Linked DNA regions of Homo sapiens: all the other regions are linked to region 1. The links are contacts of gene promoters, found by promoter capture Hi-C in human tissues and cell types (Jung and others, 2019). All regions are on one chromosome and are shown on one strand. Each heading gives the region's core, a stretch centred on a gene start or on the middle of the fragment in contact. The rest is flanking DNA. Distances are from core to core; before and after follow the strand shown. Region 1 holds the start of LRBA (LPS responsive beige-like anchor protein). Region 2 overlaps FBXW7 (F-box and WD repeat domain containing 7). Region 3 overlaps ARFIP1 (ARF interacting protein 1).

Evidence for each region. The method cuts DNA at HindIII sites, captures the fragments that hold promoters and counts their contacts. A contact is called where the count stands out against the background at its distance.
Region 2: a fragment that was not itself captured here is called in contact with the fragment with the promoter of LRBA in region 1 in 1 of the 25 tissues and cell types used here (dorsolateral prefrontal cortex).
Region 3: a fragment that was not itself captured here is called in contact with the fragment with the promoter of LRBA in region 1 in 1 of the 25 tissues and cell types used here (lymphoblastoid cells).

Annotation. Positions count from the first base shown.
Region 1 is chr4:151,013,669-151,016,614 of GRCh38, reverse strand. LRBA (LPS responsive beige-like anchor protein) reads left to right here and starts at 1,331. Exons shown (of 57, transcript NM_001364905.1): 1 at 1,331-1,413; 2 at 1,754-2,188. The coding sequence starts at 1,973. RefSeq lists a silencer at 762-911 and enhancers at 463-1,060, 1,412-1,541, 1,722-1,901. The HindIII fragment of the contact is 20,752 bases long and covers 1-2,946 here.
Region 2 is chr4:152,399,122-152,402,424 of GRCh38, reverse strand. The region is part of intron 4 of FBXW7 (F-box and WD repeat domain containing 7); the gene reads left to right. Among named protein-coding and RNA genes, the nearest start is that of FBXW7-AS1, 63 kb to the right of the region's middle. The HindIII fragment of the contact is 6,303 bases long and covers 1-3,303 here.
Region 3 is chr4:152,883,949-152,887,131 of GRCh38, reverse strand. The region is part of intron 7 of ARFIP1 (ARF interacting protein 1); the gene reads right to left. Among named protein-coding and RNA genes, the nearest start is that of FHDC1, 51 kb to the left of the region's middle. The HindIII fragment of the contact is 4,299 bases long and covers 1-3,183 here.

The sequences.
Region 1 (2,946 bases), core at 82-2,581:
GAAGAATGGTTTACTGTTAATAGCGGGTGGAAAGAAGGGACACTGAGTATGAGGACCTATCTGTACTACCTAATATAATTTATCTTTTGATCTACTCTGAGAATGACGCGAGCCTAATCTTCACATTGGAAAATCACGAGAGGAAAAAACCCTTCGGAGGTCTACAGGCACAAGGAACCCTGTCTCCACGCTGTTTATAGCAGCTGTCTCAGGAATCCTCTGCCTAGAATGAATGTGGGAGAGGTTTCGTGGCGCGGCAGCTGCAAAGCAAGGAATCTTTCCCATTCCTCGTCGACTCGGTCCCCTCCCCTCCCCTCCCGAATGGCGGCAGCTGCCGAGGTATCCCAGTGGAAATCTCCAAGTCTCCGCCGAGAGCGGCGGGCGGGCAACAGCTGAAAGCAGCCAGGGGTGGGGACTCCTCGCTCCCATTGGGCAGGGACAGCAGCCTCACTGGCTCCAGCGCCGTCACCTCTCTGGCTCGTAGAGGTGCCTCAGGTGTTCTTCTCCAAGTCCAATGAGACACCTAGGCAACGCAGCGCGTGTTCCCTCCGCGCCAAGAGACCCTACGGTAACTTAACAACAGCAGGAGCGCCAAAATCCCCGCCTCAGGACTTGGCAGAAGCACCTCCCGAGGTCCGAGAGTGGGAGAGGGGAAAGTGTAGGCCCTCGGACGGAAGGGTCTCTCCTCGCCGGGCCGGGTACACACCTGGTGCTACCAGAGCAGCGCGCCTAGTGCAGCCGGAAGCCCCAGCCCAGCACTCCGGCTGGCTCGGGGCCCCCTTGGCTGTCCGCGCGTCGTCACCGCGCCCCCGCCGCGCGGCTGCCTCCGCCTTCGCGCCCTCCCGCCCCGCGCACTCGCGCTCGCGCACGCGCACGCCGCGCCCGGCAGCACTCGGCGCTGTCATGGCGGCCGGGAGCAGCTTCAGTGGGCACACGACAGCCGCGCGACCCGTGGCGGGGCGAGCTGTGGCAGTAGCATCCTCACCACTCGCAGCAGCCTCAGCCGCGGCGCCCGTAGCGCCAGCAGCGGCTGCTTTTGCAAAGGCTGAGCGCAGGGGCGGGGCGGGCCAGGAAGCCATGGAGTTCTGTGCAGCCGCGGACTCCCGGGGAGCGGACTAGGGAAACTTGGAGGCTGCGACCAGGTGCACTGACCTCTCTGTCCTCCCTTCTCTCCCTGCGGTGGCCGCTGGGTTTCTCTGGCCGCTCCCCTCCCTTCCTGCCACCACACACACCTCCCCACCCCTTCCCGTCGAATCTCAGGTGCCTGAGAGAGGTGCTTCACTCCTCCCACTGGGCCGAGCATTTAGAATAATCACCGCCCCCTTCCCCCGCCTTTTCCTGCCCTGGATCTCCGCCGCCACCTCGGTCTCGCTGCTCCTGGGCGGGGGGTGAGGACGAGTCCGGAGTATCTGGGTGAGGAAGAACTTTCTACCTCTGTGATAGCTTGTGGGCCCCCCTTCTTTCCTCCGATCCCTCCTTTCCCCGCGACAGTTTCTCTTTCTAGTGCACCTGTGAGGAGAGGTTACCCTGCGCCTAGAACCTGCACGAGAGTGGGGGAGGAGTGAGCCTGTTCGGGGGCCTCTTGGACCTGCCTTCACCCAGAACCCAGCTTTTTGAGCCCGGGAGAAGCGGGTGGCTAGTAGTGGGGTGCCTTTAGTAACTTACTTGACCGACAATAACTATTTCCCTCTTGTCCCCTCAAAACCCTAAAACAAAACCTAGCCTATTTAACATATATTTAATCTTCCAATAGGGTTTGGCGTTGTTGTCAGCCTCGGGGAGAGAGATTGGACAAATATTCTCCAAGAGGAGGAGGGCGACGCCAAGGACTTTCCACATCAACTGCTTTGGGGTATCTCCACAAGTTGGAAGAGGGACCCTTTCGTTTTGCATTGCGTGTGTTGTGCTCATTACCAGTGCAGCGACTGCCGTCCCAGGGTGACTCTGAGTTGTCCTTTATCGTGAGCTAGCAATGGCTAGCGAAGACAATCGTGTCCCTTCCCCGCCACCAACAGGTGATGACGGGGGAGGTGGAGGGAGAGAAGAAACCCCTACTGAAGGGGGTGCATTGTCTCTGAAACCAGGGCTCCCCATCAGGGGCATCAGAATGAAATTTGCCGTGTTGACCGGTTTGGTTGAAGTTGGAGAAGTATCCAATAGGGATATTGTAGAAACTGTCTTTAACCTGGTAAGTCCATGAATATTTTATAAGCATATACTCTTTTCAGTGGGTTGGGGAACAAGATCTTAAAGCTGGAGCCATGTGGTTTACTCACACTGATGGTGACTTTTTTCGTGTATAGGGACACAAAATTCTACTCACCTAAATGAAACAATTTCATCTGTTTTTTAGATTGAAGGGAATTGTGCAAACTTAGATGATCCAGGTTTTGTGAAAGTGAACACATCACTTTTGTGCTAAGGAAATAATTGTTGCTATGGAAGTATTGGGGGGAGGTTCTAGCGGAGGAGTTATCTCTAATTTTTTTTTTCTTGGCTTGTATGCCTAAGTCTGCGTTTCCCTTTACCACTTTAAATAATTTCTTGTGACCTTTTTTTGGACTTGAGAATTAATGTCTTTGATTCTGTCGAAGTTATGTTTTGCTACAATAAGTTTAAAAATTTGTTTGTAGTGCTGATGCAAGATTAATTTGCTGCAAAGTTAGTATTTTTAATTTTGACTAGTTTTATTTTTAGACATAACTAACAAAAGTTAAATTGGTGATGAATTTAGGATTGCATTTAAAGTAATCTTGTGAAAATTGAATGGCAATATGAAAAAAGGAATTGAAGCAGATACAGTATAATTTTTATGTGTTTTATAAATTCATGTCTAGCAGGAAAGCATAGTTAGTCATTGGAAGTTGCTGATTATACTAAGATGAGCTATGAATGCTTTTTTTCGGGTGGGGGTGGGAGGGGGATGAGGCCTCTCTATGTTGCCCA
Region 2 (3,303 bases), core at 779-3,278, 1.4 Mb before region 1:
AAATCTCTGTTACTGTGGTATATTTATTGTGACTCATCGTATTAAGTTTGTTTTTCTCCCTCTCTCTTAAGCCCTTTGATTTCTTATTTTATTGCCTAATAATATTTATTGTGTTATCAGGTACCCTGATAACCTAATTATTAGTCAACAAAGAATTAGTGTATAAATTTTTACATAATACTTGTCAGTCATTGACCACATGGATATGTATTTTGTGTAGCTGGAGTCAGTGTGTATACTTCTTTTATATTCCTGATTCTTTCAGTTATTATGATAATAATAGTCTTATTATTATTTGGTAACCTGTTTGAACAGTTGACTTGTTCAGCCCCTCAAAGGGAATTTCCCCCACTCCCCTCTGCTTCACTGAAACATGACCCATTAACATGAATTATTTCTACATTCCTTCACCTAGTATTTCATATGTATCTTTTTTCTTCTATCCCTCCAATCTGGTAAGAAGAAATACACTTGTCCTTTACAAGGAAACCTTGTCTTTGAATTATTGATCCTTGAGGTCTGCGAAATGTTTTTTGGAGACTTCCTGCATTAGCCATTCTGTCTTTTTAAATTAACAAGCTTTAATTTTTAGATTAGTTTTAGATTCACAGCAAAGTTGAATGAGAGGCCTAGAGAGTTCCCATATGCCCCCTGGTGCACACATGTACAGCTTCACCCTTACCAGAGTAGTACATTTGTTATAGTCAGTGAATCTACCTTTGTCATATCATTATCCAGAATCCATAGTTTCCACCAAGGTCTCACTCTTGGTGTTGTGCACTCTGTGGGTGTGGGCAAATGTGTATTGACACGCATCTACCAATGTAGTACCATAGAGAATGGTTTCACTACCTTAAAAGTCCTGTGTTCTGCCTATTCATCCCTTTCTTCCCCAGCCTCTCATCGCCACTGATCCTTTCACCGTCTCCATAGTTTTGCTTTTTCCAGAATGTCATATAGTTGGAATTATACAGTATGTAGCCTTTCAGATTGGCTTCTTTCACTTACGTAATATGCATTGACTTTTCCTTCATGTATATTTATAGCTTGATAGCTCATTTCCTTCTAGCACTGAATAATATTCCATTGTTTGGATATACCACAGTTTATCCACTTCCCTAGTGAAAGACATCTTGGTTGCTTCCACATAATTGGCAATTATGAATATAGCTGCTTGTGAAAATCTGTGTGCAGGATTTTGCATGGACTAAGTTTTTAACTCCTTTGCGTAAATGCCAAGGAGTGTGATTCCAGGATTGCAAGTTAACAGTATGATTAATTTTGTAAGAAACTGCCAAATGGCTTCCAAAGTGTCTATATACTTTTGCATTCCCACCAACAGTGAATGAGAGTTCCTGTGGCTCCACATCTTCAGTGGCATATAGTGTTGTCAGTGTTCTGGATTTTGACCATTCTGATAGGTGTGTATGGTATCTCTTTGTTACCATTTGAAGTTCCCTAGTGATATATGATGTTGACCATCTTTTCCTGTGCTTACTTCCCATCTGTAAATCTCCTTTGGTGAGGTGTCTGTCCAGATCTTTTGTCCATGTTTTAGTCAGGTTGTTCTGTTACTGTTGTATATTTTGGATAACAATCGTTTATCCCATGTGCATTTTGCAAATACTTTCTTCCAGTCTGTGGCTTATGTTCTTATTTTCCTGACAGTGTCTTTCAGAGAGCTGACATTCCTATTTTAGTAGAGTCCAGCTTATGAATTATTTCTTTCATGTATCATGCTGTTAGTATTGTATTGTTGTATCTAAAATGTCATTTCCGGCTGGGTGCCATGGCTCACACCTATAATCCCAGCACTTTGGCAGGCTGAGGTGGGAGGATCGCTTGAGCCCAGGAGTTTGAGACCAGCCTGGGCAACATACTGAGACCTCCTCCTTAAAAAAAAAAAATGCACAAAATTAGCCAGGCATGGTGGTGCGTTCCTGTGATCTTAGCAACCCGAGAGGCTGAGGTTGGAGGATTGCTTGAGCCTGGGACATCAAGGATGTGGTGAGCCAAGATCATACCACTCTACCCCAGCAAAAAGTCATGTCTATACCCAAGGCCATTTAGGTTTTCTCTTATGTTATCTTCTAAGAGTTTTATAGTTCTGCACTTTACATTTATGTCTATGATCCATTTTGAGTTAATTTTGTGAAGGTTGTAAGGCCTTTGTTTAGATTCATTTATTTGCATGTGGATGTTCGGTGGTTCAGCACCATTTGCGGAAAAGACTAGCTTTTCTACATTGTACTGCCTTTGTTCCATTGTCAAAGATCACTGTACCATATTCTGGTCTCTCTATTCTGTTCCATTCATCTACTTTTAATTCTTTCACCAATACCACACTGTCTTGGTTACTGTAGCTTTATAGTAAGCCTTGAAGTTGGAGAGTGTCTATCTCCCAGCTTCATTCCTCTCCTTCAGTATCGTTTTGGCTATTCTGGGTCTTTTGCCTCTCCATATAAGTTTTAGAATCAGTTCGTTGATATCTGTTACTTGCTGGGATTTTGATTGGTATTGCTTTGAAACTATAGATGAGATTGGCAAGGACTGACATCTTGACAGTATTGAGTCTTCCTGTGCAAGAACATGGAATATATCTCCATTTATTTAGTTCTTCTTTGATTTTTTATCAGAGTTTTATAGTTTTCATTATGTAGATCTTATACATATTTTATTAGATTCATCCCTAAATATTTTATTTCAGGGGGCTGCTAATGTAAATGATACTGTATTTGTCATTTCAGATTTCACTTTTTCATTGCTGGTGTGTAGGAAAATAATTGACTTATTATATATTAATCTTATATCTTGCAACCTTGCTATAATTGCTTTTTTTTGGTCAATTTTTTAGGATTTTCTATGTAGAGGGTCATGTCATGTGCCAAAAAAGACAGTGTTATTTCCTCTTTCTTAATCTCTTTATCTTTTACTTCCTTTTCTTGTCTTTGTGCTTTAACTAGGACTTCCCCTATGATGTTGAAAAGCAGTGGTTAAAGAGGACATTCTTGCCTTGTGTCTGATCTTAGTAGGACAGCTTTGAGTTTCCATCCTTAAGTGTGATGTTAGCTGTAGGCTTTTTATAGGTAGTCTTTATCAAGTTGAGAAAGTTCCTCCCCTCTATTCCTAGTTTGCTAAGAGTCCTTCTATCCTATTTCTTAATGGTTTAGTAGATGACTCTGTGGTACTTTGAAGGTTGTTTGCAGAATTTCCATGCCATAGGCAATTTACCTTTCCTTGACATTTGAAGGATTGATGTTGGTGCCAAGTATAGAATCTTCACAGAGTCCTCCTGTAGCTTCT
Region 3 (3,183 bases), core at 174-2,673, 1.9 Mb before region 1:
AAGAAGCAAAGTGACCTCTAATTTAGTCAAGATCAGAATCACAAAGCTTATACCCTAAAACTAAAGCTCTTTATTTGGAGATATTAGGTGTATAATTCACATCTCCTATTCTGGGAATTAACAATACTTTAAATAACATAATCTATATTGTATATATGACTTGAGAAAGAATACATCAGTCCTTCACACTGATCCTAATTTATTCTTAACTCATACTGAATTTAGCAGTATGAGTTAAGATTTAATTTAATTGGCCTCTTTCAGGGTCAAAAGAGAACCATTCATTCATTCACTGATACACTGATTCATTCAACAATTCTCAAGTGAGCACTTTCCACGTTCCAGGCACTGTGTTAGAAAGTAGAGCTATAAAGATGAACAGATATGTTTATCCTCAAGAAGCTCGCATTCTAGAGGAAGAGAACCTTGTAAACAATTACAACAAAATGAGATAATAAGAACTACCATAAATGAGGGTAAGGTATAATGGAAATCAAGAGGAATAATTATTTAATTAGATATCTGAAAAGGTATCTCAGACAGAATTAAAATACTATAATTAAAATTTGAAGGATGGTAAAAGCTGGCTAGGTGAATTGGGATACAGAAATCAGTAGGATACTCTGATTCTGAAGAGAATAGCATGGACAAAGGCATAGATTTGTAAGATACAATGACACATTTGGGAATTCGGTATGTCAGAATCTGAAGCTGGAACATGACAATGGAAGGAATTAACATTAGACAGGCAGGCAGGATTGAAAGTAAGCAGCCCTACAGGCCATGTTAAAGTGTTTAAATTTAATCCAGTAGGAGAAGTAATGGGAAGCCACTGAAGAATGTTGATCTGACATAAAAATGACATGATTGTATCAGGATAGAAAGATGACCCTGGTGGTAGTGTAAGAGATGGAGGATAGAATAAATGATTAAAAAATCAGGAGCAAGGAAACCTATTAGAAAACGATGGACATATAAGAAATGAGTCACTGAATCAGGACAAAGGCATTGGAGCTAAGGAGACAAATACAAAAGATTTAGGAGGCAAGACTGACTTGGCAATAATAACTAGTTAGTTAAATCCATGGGTTCAGGAGCCAAGCTGAATGACCTCTCTGCCTTTTGGCTCTATTCTTGAGCTGGTTATTTCATCTCTTTGTGCTCCAGTTTTTCAATCTATAAATGTGAACAAAAATCTCCACAAAAACTTCATATAGATAAAACACACAGGATACCTGGTAATAACTGATACCTTTAGAATGCTTATTATTATGGCCAAATTAGAAGAGGGGTATCTAGAAGCAAGCACACTAAAAACAATAGGAAATAAAAGAGAAAAAAGTAGAACTAAATAAATAGTAATACATGGTGATTTAATCTAAGGACAAATATCCTTCAATAGCCTTGGAGCGCATTTCTAAACAACAGTGATTAACTCAAACATATTCAAAGTTATAATACTGACCTTATATTTCTTAATTTTACATTCAGAGTTTGTAGGTGGTACCAAAGTAAAACTTTCCATAATAGCTTCTCTAACAGTGCTCATTACCACCAAGAAGAGAAGCTCACTAAGTTTTCAAAAAGCAACTTCACTTCAAGGTTGCCCGTCTGAACTGAGTCCGTATCAACAAAGTTAGTGACGGTTACTTTATGGCTTATGTAAAACTTCTAGAGAACAGGTGTCCACATCTGAAAAGTCTCGACCACAATTGACTCCCTTGTTGGTGCTGCTGTGGAGAAGTGTTGAATGGGCTGTTACAAGATTTTCTATACATGAAGCACCAGAGGGCTAGGAAATACTTGTACACAATGCATAATAGGGAGGATTAAAAGGCCACTCGGGCATTTGCCTAAATTACCACTTTTTGCACTGATCAAATAGATGACCCTTGCCCTAAAAGTCAGTAAATTCTGGCTTTGACAGAGAAGGAAATTCAGCTACTGAAAAACTTTTAACCTTGGATTCTTTTTGACTATTATCCATCAGTAGGCAAGGTTTTAGTGTTAACAACTAGCCAATTCCACAGCTATTTCATAAACAACAGAAAAGTCAAACCCCAAGCTAAGCTTAATGAATAAGATCATACATTGTAATTTGAATAAAAAAGGATAAATTACGGGATGACATAAAACAAAAACAACATTACTGTTGTTGTTTTTTAAAGTACACACAGAGGCTGTGTAAGGGTTTCCCTTAAGAAACCAGCCACCAAGTACATGTAACTTGATTTATAATTTTGTTCAAAAGTTCCAAATGAACCTATATACTGTATTTTATAATCTGAGATCTTATACCACATTATACTTAGGGCACTAATACTCAGGTATAAGGCCTACTGATAAAATGTGAACCATAGAGAACCAATGGGTTCTTATTTTGCCTTTGAAATTGACTACAAGTGAGCAAACCATTTAACCTCTAGAGTGTTTTCTCCTCTACAAATTAATTATAAACTGTTTAGAAATAAAAGCTGAAGGGAAAGAGATTATTATTAACGAAAATATATTTCAGGATAGGTAGACAATTGCAAAGTAGAGAAACTAGATTCACAAAGTTCTCAACTAGGAGGTGGTGGGGGTATTTTTGGAAGAAAACAATATCCATCTTTAAAACCCATACATGTTAAAACAATCAGAAGGACTAGAAAATATGAATATTTAAAATGATTAGAGATAAAAGAAACAGTACCATTATGAACAAATTAGGACATTATGAACAAGGAACAGAAAAATTTAGAAAAGGATCAAGTAAAACTTATATAAATGAATTTTAAAATTCATATACATAATGAACCCTTTGAAAAATATAATTTCCATGAAAGGATTTACACTGAGACTGAAACACCAATTACTGAGAATGTTATTGAAGAGATTTCCACGGAAGGCTATCTTACTAACAGCTATCCTCACCCTTACCCCTCCATACAACCACAGCTGTTTGACCTTCATTTTCAAGTCAATAAGAATCTCATACTTTAATACTAAATGGAAAATGACAAAATAAACATGGTATGGGACAGAAGCATCTCTTCCTGTGAAAACATCAAAAATTAACTTTTCAAAATGATTTGGGCTTTTACTTAATTGAAGTGTAAGGAAATATATATTTAATAAGCACTCAATTGCAAAAATACTAGATGAGTTTGGAGTTTTTTACAGGTATTTCTCATACCATTAAAC